Linked DNA regions of Homo sapiens: all the other regions are linked to region 1. Evidence: promoter capture Hi-C in 16 types of primary human blood cells and fetal thymus (Javierre and others, 2016). All regions are on one chromosome and are shown on one strand. Each heading gives the region's core, a stretch centred on a gene start or on the middle of the fragment in contact. The rest is flanking DNA. Distances are from core to core; before and after follow the strand shown. Region 1 holds the start of CCK (cholecystokinin). Region 2 has its middle 31 kb from the start of LYZL4. Region 3 overlaps LYZL4 (lysozyme like 4).

The links. The method cuts DNA at HindIII sites, captures the fragments that hold promoters and counts their contacts. A CHiCAGO score of 5 or more calls a contact.
Region 2: a contact is called between a fragment that was not itself captured here and the fragment with the promoter of CCK in region 1, in 15 of 17 cell types (naive CD8 T cells, naive CD4 T cells, fetal thymus and 12 more). The highest score is 18.2, in naive CD8 T cells.
Region 3: a contact is called between a fragment that was not itself captured here and the fragment with the promoter of CCK in region 1, in 2 of 17 cell types (naive CD8 T cells and naive CD4 T cells). The highest score is 5.5, in naive CD8 T cells.

What each region holds. Positions count from the first base shown.
Region 1 is chr3:42,264,379-42,267,950 of GRCh38, reverse strand. CCK (cholecystokinin) reads left to right here and starts at 1,766. Exons shown (of 5, transcript NM_000729.6): 1 at 1,766-2,267; 2 at 2,514-2,682; 3 at 3,044-3,254. The HindIII fragment of the contact is 3,723 bases long and covers 1-2,956 here.
Region 2 is chr3:42,439,882-42,443,453 of GRCh38, reverse strand. No RefSeq gene overlaps it. Among named protein-coding and RNA genes, the nearest start is that of LYZL4, 31 kb to the right of the region's middle. The HindIII fragment of the contact is 4,095 bases long and covers 1-3,572 here.
Region 3 is chr3:42,395,139-42,398,710 of GRCh38, reverse strand. It overlaps LYZL4 (lysozyme like 4), which reads left to right. Exons shown (of 5, transcript NM_144634.4): 5 at 1,377-1,628. The coding sequence ends at 1,446. Among named protein-coding and RNA genes, the nearest start is that of LYZL4, 14 kb to the left of the region's middle. The HindIII fragment of the contact is 1,237 bases long and covers 1,041-2,277 here.

The DNA.
Region 1 (3,572 bases), core at 517-3,016:
CCCATACTGGACTCATTACCCGCTCCCCACTGGCCCACTACCACCACGGCCACACTCCAAGCCTGCTTTTCCTTCTGAATTCCCTGTCTTGGATAATACTCTACCACCCACCCTTGTCTCCCAGCCTGGAAACTCAAGGTCAGTCTCAGTCACCAAGTCCGGTTCCCTCTACCAGTTTCCTGAGCAGCAACAGGTTGTTCCCTGGGAGGCTGGAATTTTTCTTCTTTTCTCTACTTTTGTTTTCTGAATGTTCTCTGATGAACACTTATGACTTGCATAATGTTTATTATGTTTCCTAATAATTAATGGGTTTCATAATGGCTTATTATTCTAAAACAAATCTACCTTGATTGTTCCTGCTTGCCCATCCCCGAGGGCCTCCTATCCAGCCCTCCCCTTCCAGTCCCTCTGCCTTTTGGGCATCTTCCATATTACCACCTAGCTCCCCTCACCAAAACATTTCTCCAAGATTACCTCCTACCATCTCCACTCCATAGTCCCCAAATATCAGAATTGTTGAGAAGTGTTTGTCCACTTGTTTGCTTCAGCTCCCCTATTGTATTGTCAGCTCTTGTTCATACTGAATCCCTGGGGCCTGGCACAAAGTAAGTGTTGAATAAACATGAATTAAATGGATCAAGGCCAGGAGTTGAGTAACTGGTATAAGGTAGGGAATTTCTATAGAAATGATCTCAAAGTGTGCTTGGCGGACTAGCATTTTCAGTATGGCCTGGGAACTTGTTAGAAATGTAGATTCTTGGTGGGGCGTGGTGGCTCACGCCTGTAGTCCCAGCATTTTGGGAGGCCAAGGTGGGTAGATCACCTGAGGTCAGAAGTTCGAGACCAACCTAGCCAACATGGTGAACCCTTGTCTCTACTAAAAATATAAAAATTAGCCAGGCATGGCTGCACATGCCTGTAATCCCAGCCGCTGGGGAGGCTGAGGCAGGAGAATCGTTTGAACCTGGGAGGCAGAGGTTGCAGTGAGCCGAGATCATGCCACTGTACTCCAGCCTGGGCGACAGAGTGAGACTCTGTCTCAAAGAAGGAAAGGCAAGGAAAGGAAGGAAGGAAGGAAGGAAGGAAGGAAGGAAGGAAGGAAGGAAGGAAGGAAATGAAGAAAGAAAGAAAGAAATAAAGAAGAAAGAAAGAAAGAGAGAGAGAAAGAGGGAAAGAGGGAGAAGGAGAGACGGAGGGAGGGAGGGGGGAAGGAAGGAAGGAAGGAGGGAGGGAAGGAAGGAAGGAAGGAAGGAAGGAAGGAAGGAAGGAAGGGAGAGAGGGAAAGAGGGAAGGGGAGAGAGGGAGGGAAGGAGGGAGGAAGGGAGGGAGGGAGGGAGGAAGGAAGGGAGGGAGGGAGGGAAGGAGGGAAGGAGGAAGAAAGGAAGGAAGGAAGGAAGGAAGGAAGGAAGGAAGGAAGGAAGGAATTCGGATTCTTGGGCCCTTCCTCAGACCTACTGAATTAGAAGCTCTGGGGGTATTTCGATAACAAGTTTATGTTTCCAGACATGTCTTGCCACAATCACAAATAAGACTCTTTTTCGCAACTGAACTACACAAACCTTAGCAGGCTCGTGGCGAAACCACTGGAAAGCATTTAATCAGCTTCAGCTCTTTCAAACATGTTGCCCATAGGTTGCAGAAACGCAGCTGCCTCTCAGGATTAGAAAGTGGAGCAGCAACCGGAGGCGTCTCTGGGCCGCCCCCCCAACCCCCCCACCCCGCCTCGCCCACTCCACCCTCACACTGGCGTTGCCACAGTCCCTCCATTCCAGAGGGAATTCCAGAGCGGAATACGGATTCCGATTTTAAAATAAGCGCTTCTAAATCTTTCTCCTTGCATCTAAGACGGGTGGGGGAAAGAAAGGGAGAGGAGTTGAGGTCCCAAGGTTCAAGGCCTGGTGATCTCCAGGTCCCAGGCTGGGCGGCCTCGGTGCACGGAGAGGGCGAGGGGCGTGTTGTGGAGCCTTGGCAAGGCGCTGCTCTTCCTCGCGCCTCGGTTTGCGGTCTGTGAAATGGGGTTGGCAGTGCCTTTGCAGGGACGCGGCGAACTCAAGCACCAGCAAGCGGACTCGAACTCAAAGGGTTTCAGGGTGTAGACGACCAGAGCGCACTGAGGGGCTCCAGGTCGGCCCGCTCCGGAGCCGGGAGAGTAACCGCGTGCAGGGAAAGGCGCACGGCAGCCTCGGTGCCTCCCTTCCCTCCACCGGACGGGTGACTGACTAGGGGTGAGGTCCTCACCTCCAGGCTGCGCAGCTGAGTTCTGGAAGGTACTGTCCTGGGGGTGTGAGTGTGTGGGCCCTCAGGAAAGGTGCGAGGGGCGGATGCCGTGGTCTACCCGAGCTTGCGGGGGTGCGGTGGTCAAGTTCCCCAGGACCCTCGCTGGCGCCGCTTGTCGACAACGGGGAACAGTGGGCGCCGCGGGTGGTGGTAACTTGGCCCGGGAAGAAAACACATCCCTTTCCCAAACCGGATTCCTCTGAGCAAAACCAGATGGTGTCATCCGCATTTTACAGCTGCGTCAAGAGAGGCCCAGGACACCAAGAGCCAGCTGTGGCCAGAGCCCTTTCACTGACCCAGAACACTGGCCCTCGGAAACCTGGAGAACTGCGAGGGCTTTTAATGCGGCTGAGAAGAAAGTGAAGACCCCGACTCCTCCTCTCTCCTTCGAAAGAGCCGACACAGGTATGAAGACCAGCGCCTCGGACGCTCCGGGGTAGGGGGCCGACGCCCCCTCCCTTTCAGAATCACGCCTTGCTGATGCTCAGTCCTGCCCAGTGTCCACCCCCCACCCCCGCCCCCAGTTTCCTTTCTAGCCCCTCCGGTCCCCAAAGCGAACTAAGCTAGCGGCAGCTTCTCCATCCCGGAGGAGACTCCAAACTCCTAGGTTTCCCACCTTGGAGAGTACTGCTCTGGAATGCGCAGGGGAGCGGCACCTGGAAAGGGTTGGGCGGAAGCTTCTCGGACCCAGAGGGGGCGGACACCCGGCACCGCGCGTGGGAGGGATTAACTCCACCCCACTAGACCACCTCCCCCTCTCTCCCAGGAGCCACTTCAACCGGTTGTCGCCCCAGTGGCCGCCCTCTGAGCACGTGTTACTGCCAGTCTGCGTCAGCGTTGGGTAAATACATGACTGGCCGACGCCGCCGGGTGGGGCTATTTAAGAGACAGCCGCCCGCTGGTCCTCCCTGAACTTGGCTCAGCTGCCGGGCTGCTCCGGTTGGAAACGCCAAGCCAGCTGCGTCCTAATCCAAAAGGTAGGTCCCTCGGTTCGTCAGCGGGGGATCCAAGTGTCGTGTGTCTTTGAAGGATGCTGTCTTCAGCTTTGTGCCCATTTCCATTATGCTTTTCTATTTTCTGTGTCTTCCCTCCGAGAGCTCGAAAGACATTTCTTGAAGTCAGAAATAACGGCTCTGGGTCTAAAAGTGAGGTCTGGGTGGGTAGAGCTGCTTTAGAGCCTTTCATACGCCAGCATCATTAAGGGATGAACTACCCATTCGCTAAGATTCGCATGCAGATTGAGTTTGCTAGCTGTTACACAGCGGTGCGGGGGACTTTGCAATCTTTTCTAATAA
Region 2 (3,572 bases), core at 479-2,978, 180 kb before region 1:
GCCCATGGCAGAGTACGTGTTTTCTGATGAAGAAGGAAGACAGCAAAATCAGAAAAAATACAAAGAGAGATGCTTCTTCATCACACCACCCCAAAGCCTTGTCAACTTTCCAGACTTCGTGACCCATGGACCTAAGATTCTGCTGAAAGAGTCTTCCACAAGACGTTAATATTTTCTGCAGCTGGGAGAAACAGCTCCCACCACTCTTGCAAATTACTTCCACTCCAAATGAGAAGCAGTCCTGCAGCCTGGCTGCTTAGAATATGTGGGGATTTGCGAGGGAGGCATTGCTGGCACTCTTCTGGGGCCATTACTTCCCTTTGGTGCCCATCCTGAGTGTCCAAAATGCATCGCCTAATCCCCCTTCACACATCTTGATGTGTTCCTGCATTCCTGGCAGACTACTGCTGATGCCAATGATGGCAGGAGACTCCTGAGCACTCGCTGTGGTGGGCTCACCATCTCCATGGTACTGGCAATGTCTTTGCCTTGCACTGCCCTCACATCACAAGGCTGCTGCAGCGGGCTCCTGCTCTGGAATCCCTCAGCCCATGCATTGCTGTGGTTGCCCTGCAGGAGACGCTGCCACAGCCTCCCAGGCTGGAGCTCCATGTGCTGACCTAGCCAGGACCAGGCCCTCAAGGCCCAGGTAAGGATATGGTGCCAGCCCTTGGGACTCCTCTGAGAACTCACCATGTGGAGCAACTGGAACACTCATAGACCGCCTGGAGGAGTGTGAAATGCTACAACCACTTCAGAAAATTACTTGACAGTTACGTAAAAAGTTAAGTGTTTACTTGCCTTATAACTTAGGTCGATCTGTCCTATAATTATCCTCCTAGGCATTTAATCAACAGCAGTGAAAAGCAATATCCGCATCCAGTATTGTGCAAAAATATTCGTGAGATTTTATTCATAATAGTTCAAGACTGGAAACACACTAGGTGTCCCTCAACAGATGAATGGACAAATTATGGTGTATTCCTGTAATGGAATACACCTCACAGCAATAAGAAGAAATGAATGACTGATGCACCCCACAGGAATGAATCTCACAGACATAATGCTGAATGAGAGAACCCAGACACAAAAGAGGTTATGCTCTATGATCCCATTTATATGAAGCTCTAGAAAATGCAAACTAACCTATCGTGATAGAAATCAGAACAGTGATTTGCTTCAAAATGGGAGGTAGAGGAATTGGGGGCAGATTCCTGGGAACTTCTCTGTATCTCAGCCTCCAGCCTCCTCAGCCCTTTGCAGATACCTTAAGATGCCGCACACCCTACTTTGTTGGCTCCATCCATGGTGAGCTGGGGGAGAGATTTGGGCAGCGGTAAAATCTACTACAGACCTATAATTCCAGGGACTTTAAAATTCCAGAGGCTGTGTAACAGGGAATGTTATCAATTCTCAACAGTCATTTTCTTCTTTTATTCCTGATTGTAGCTGGGCACACTGCCAATCAGCCAAGTGATTACTTACTCCAGCTTCTCTTGCAGCAAGATGAGACTGTGTCACTAAGAGATGGCATATGTGACTTTCCAGAAGAGGGAAAGAACTGCTCTTTTTCCTCCTTCCTCCCTCTTGCTGCTTGGAACACATATATAATGGCTGAGGCTCCAGCAGCCCTCTTGGACCACAAGTTTGAAAGTCACCTGCAGTGAACGCAGAGGGAATTCCAGAAGGAGCTTTATGGAACTGTTACAACAGTCCTGACCTGCCTGCCTCTGGAATTTTGTTGTTGTTGTTTAACAAAATAAAATAAAATTCTGTGTTTTGGCCACTGTGAATTGGGGTTTTTGGTTACTTGCGGTCACACTCAACCCCAAGTGATACAGATTGCAGAGTACGGAAGTTTAAGGGTACAGATTCAGGAACCAAACTGCTGGGCTCACACTCCAGTTTTGCCACCTGCCAACTAGGTGAGTCTGGGATACTCACATGACTTCTTTGCTTCTGTTCCCTCATGAGGAAAATGGAGATAAAAATGCCTACCTCATAGGACTGTTGCAAGGATTAGAAGAGCTGACAGAAGAGAATATAATGCACTTAGAAAATAGTAAGCATCAAGTTCTGTGAACAGTTCCTGGGATAGCAAGTGCTCAGTAAGTATGGACTTTTATTGTTTTTGTGTGGAGGCACATGGTGTGTGTGCATGCATGTGCAATCTTGTCTGCATGACCCTATCAATCCCTACTGGTGTTGTCTGATGAAACTGTCACCCCTCTGACGCCCATGGAATGCTCCCTGCAGGTGGCAACTGCGTCCTCCTCATTTCGACTTCTAAGCCCTCACCCAGAAGTGGAGTCTCATGCTTCCTCGGAGGCAGAGCTTTTCCTTCTCCTGTTGCAGGCTCCGCCAGGCACCCCATGGTTTCTCTCCCCAGCATCGCTTCTTTGTCTTTGTCTTCCTCACCTGCTGGGGTGAGGAGGCTCTTTAGGTTTCCCCTAGAAAGGAGGTGCAAATCGGGATGCCAGATTTAGCAAATAAAAATACATATCACCCGGTTAAATTTGAATTTCAGGTAAACGATAAGTAGTTTTTTATTGTAAGTATGTCCCAAATATTGCTTTTTTTTTTTTTTTTTTGAGACGGAGTTTTGCTCTGTCACCCAGGCTGGAGTGCAGTGGCAAAATCTTGGCAAACTGAAACCTCCACCTCCCAGGTTCAAGCGATCCTCCTGCCTCAGCTTCCCAAGTAGCTGGGATTACAAGCATGCACCACAATGCCCAGCTAATTTTTGTATTTTCAGTAGAGGGGGCGTTTCACCATGTTGGCCAGGCTGGTCTCAAGCTCCTGACCTCAAGTGATCCATCTGCCTCAGCCTCCCAAACTGCTGGGAATACATGCGTGAGCCACCCTGCCCAGCCCCAAACATTGCATTTTATCTGGCAGCTCTAGGCATGGTCCCTAGGATCCCCCACCCCACTCTGCACCCATCTGAGGTCTCTGCTGTATTCTTCATCCCCTATTGGTGACAGGTGGGTGGGTTGGGGAGCAGGGCCATTTTCAGGGAAGCTCCTATTTTCTTTCTCTCTTGCTGCCCCTTATCATTCTCTCCCCACCTCTGCCCTGAGAAACTTCCTCTCTTCTGAAGCAGGCAAAACTAGCCCTGATCTATATCTCAGGCCTTGGAAGTTTCTAGGTTACCTGTAAATTTCCTTTGGGTTCTTACAACTCAAAGTTGACTTTCCAAATTCAAAAGCCAAGCCAAGATTTTGACTCCCTTCTTCTCCCATCCCTGCTGTATCAACCCTTCCCTGCTGGAAGTCTTTGCTGTTGGGGCTGAGGAAGAACTGGGATGCATGAGGAAATGCAGCAAACATTTCCAAGTATCTTCCAGCAACACACAGAGGGACTTGTTGAAATCTCCCCACAGTTCCATTCTTATTCCTGTCCCAACTCTTTGTTTCCATGGCCACTAGGGTGTTTTCTGTCACCATTATCAGTCTGTTAAAGGACAAGTGCACCTGGTTTATTCACATCTTTCTCCCCTATTATCTGTCAGAAAATACAACAATCAGCTCTTTATGTTGCTTCCCAGAGGGCACTGCCATTGTGTCTGCTCT
Region 3 (3,572 bases), core at 410-2,909, 130 kb before region 1:
TTTTGTTAAATAAGTTAAAAATAGAATATGATTTTATGTTTTTAATGCTTAAAATTTTGGCCTTCTTGGAATTTATTTTGGTATAAAAAGTGAGGTGTAGGGACTCAGGTTTATATTTTTTAAATGGCTAGTCATTGATTTCAATACTATTTATTCAGTAACCCATTTTCATCACTAATTTAATAGATTGTAATTTTAAAGTGAAAGTCCCCTTATTAATGTTAACTGACTTTGGAGTGTTTGAAATACCTTTCATATATGGTCCGAGTTTCCAGTTAATGTGGAAGCTTGGCTGATTCTTTAGAGTAAGCCCTAATGAACTAAAACCATATTTAGTGTATGGCACTGAGTGGAGCTATGCTAAGCCAGGCAGATCAAGGCCTTCTTATTGCTGAGGTTCCCAGTGAAGGAAGCTAATTAAGCTAACAGGCAGCCACGTGTTCTCCAAAGCTCGGTTGGTCAGCTCTGCAGGGTTGGGGCAGACAGGAAGGGAGAAGACTAAGATCACACATGGCCCCAAGGAGTCCCTTCTGCAATGTCTGCCCTGAGCTATGGAGAGCCTTGGGATTTCTGAAAATACCTGTGTGTATGTTTCCCTGCCACTCTGTAACTATGAGGGGCCAGAGGTCCACAGCCCTGTCTTGCACTGTGGGACCTCCTATCCTGGAAGACCCGTGGAAACCGGCCCGCTGAGGGGTGGGATGACGAAACAGGATTTCTAATGGCGTACAGCTGGCCTGAGTGACTCCCCACCCTGCAGGTAGGGACTGGAGAACCTGAAGTCTGGGTGCTGGCATGGGGACCCAGAACAAGGGAATCACTTTGACAGGCACCAGGAGAAAAGGTTAGAGAAACTCAGTGCAGCTGACTTAGGTGGGGCTAAAGAGTTGGAAGGAATTTTGGAAGGTGAAGAGCGGAGCAGGTACGTGGAAAGGTGAAAGGGGCCCTGGCCCAGGGGACAAAGGTTCTATTTGCAGGCCTAGGGTCTGCCAAAGACTCATCATGTGACTCTGGGAAAGTCACGGAACTTCTCTGAAGCTTACTTCAGAGAAGCAAATGATACCTCCGTTGCAGGGTTGGGGGAGAATTTCACAGTTCACAGTTCAGCCTCCTCATCTCACCATGTGGGGTTTATGGAATGAGTTGGGGGCTGATGTGGGCACTAGGATGGAGGAAGCACCAGTATTCAAGCCAGGATGTGATGAAGACAGCACTGGAGATGCACAAAAGCCTTCAGAATCGTGCCCACGGCAGAGGTGGAAAACTCAAAGGCTCCAAGGGGCAGGCAGGTGTAAATGGCCTGAATGGGGCTGTGAAGCCCTGGAGACCCTGAGTTCTGACTTTGAGGAGCCCTTCCTGTTCACTTCTCTCCACAGGCCCACCTGGTCCCGGTACTGCCAGTACTCCGATACCCTGGCACGGTGGCTGGATGGTTGCAAGCTGTAGCCACCTGCATGGCCCCTGCAGCACTCACCAGTTGCATCTTGTGAATGAAGGTGCTTTTCTGCTTGCTGCTTCAGTCAATCCTTTTGATGATCTCACCACTTTAAGAGTTCCAGATGGAAAAAGACAAAAGTTTGCTTCATCCGGGGATGCAGGATGCAGAATAAACCAAACTAGTTACTCAACTTGGGCCAAAGGTCTCTGCTTTGATTATGATTATTTCTGTAATCACCATTATTTACTATTATTGTGATTTATTATTATTTAATCTCATATGGAGGAATTGAAGGAAGGAAATTATCTGAAAAACAAGATGTGTCCATGAATGTCAATACTAAACAGGAAAAGGAAGAACAGGTACAGTGGAACCAAAGAGGAAAGAAGAGAGGAAGAGAGGCTGGCACAAGCAGGGCCTTCAGCCAAGGCGTGTCCACACTGGGACACACGGGGAAGGGAGAGACCACAGAATCCTCTTTGCACGTCTATGAAGGGAATCAAATGACAGTTGCTCATTTCTTATAAAAAGTCTCTGAAAGTTATAAATAACACATATTTGCATTAGAGAAATTTGGGAAAATACAGAAATGTTAAAAAGGAGAAAAATTTTCCTATAATCTCAGTACTCAAAGACAATTGCTGTTATGTTTTGGTTGCATTTCCTGCTGATCTTTTTTCTGTATAGGTTTTTTATTCTTTTTCAAAAATGCCATGATAATGTTGTAGTTAGAGAGTTTTGCATCTGACTTTTTAGAAAGAAAACAAACAAATAAGGTAAGACACTTTTCCCCTACATCTGTTTCAACTTTAAGTAGCAAGGGGCTTATTTTAAAAGCTTAGTGGCTTACAGCTTATTTCATGGGATGGAGTACAGCTGTCAGCCTGGGCTTCCTGGACACACCTGCCTGAGATCTGGTAGCAGCAGCAGCAAGAGCACAGGTATCTGCTCAGCAGGTCAGGTCACCTATGGGACCCACACCATCATGGGGGTTGGAGAACATAGTTCTTCACCTTTCAGTCCTCATACAGGAAGAAAAGAACTAGAGTAGTATGGAGAAAGCCTGTCAGTCACATGTGCTTCACCATGGTGTTGTAGTTCTTCAAAGTGAAATTTTAGTGCCAGTGAGTATTTCAGTATATGACACACCATATTTTATTTAACTTTTGCTCTACTCTTAGATGTTTTCTTTTTTTCTTTTCTTTTTTTTGAGACAGAGTCTTGCTCTGTCACCCATTGCTGGAGTGCAATGGCGCGATCTCGGCTCACTGCAGCCTCCACCCCGCAGGTTCAAGCGATTCTTCTGACTCAGCCTCCCGAGTAGCTGGGATTGCAGGCACGCACCAACAACACCTGGCTAATTTTTGTATTTTTAGTAAAGACGGGGTTTCACCATGTTGGCCAGGATGGTCTTGAACTCCTGACCTCAAGTGATCCACCCGCCTCGCCTCCCAAAATGTTAGGGGTGTGAGCCACCGATCTTGGCCATGTTAGATCTTTAGGTATTGCCATTTTAAAAACCATTACAAAGAGTGCTGAAGTCCCTGTTTGGGGCTGCCCCTTTTTATTTCTCACATTTTAAAAATTACCCCAACAACATATATTTAATGAAGAAAACCTGGGTAGCATAAGTAGTCATAAAAAAGGAAATTAAGAATATCCCCTCACTGGAAACAGAAGTTTTCATCATTGTCATGTTGCTAAAGTGGGCAATCCTGACTTAGGAAAAGAAACTTTTCGTGTGTATATCTTCCCTGCTTTCGTGTGTGTGCACATTTTTCCCCTTACAGACATGGACTACTACTAAACATACAGTTTTGTATCTTCCTTTTTTCACTCAATATTTTGTGATCTAATATTTCCAGGTCTACAGCAGGGATCCTAGCACCATTTTTAACAACGGCACAGCTTTCCATTATATAGACAAACTATGATGTATATAACTCTTTATTGTTACTCTTTGTAATTTAGAAAAAAATTGAAGAAATTAGGTAAAAAGTGGCTACGTGAAAGGCAGGCAAGATCCAAATCAATTCAGCCTTTCTTTTTGTCTTAACCTTGGTTACTTTCAGAAGGAAGAAATGGCTGTAAGTTAGAATTTCAGAGACAGAACTTTTACTCAAGTTCAGTAACG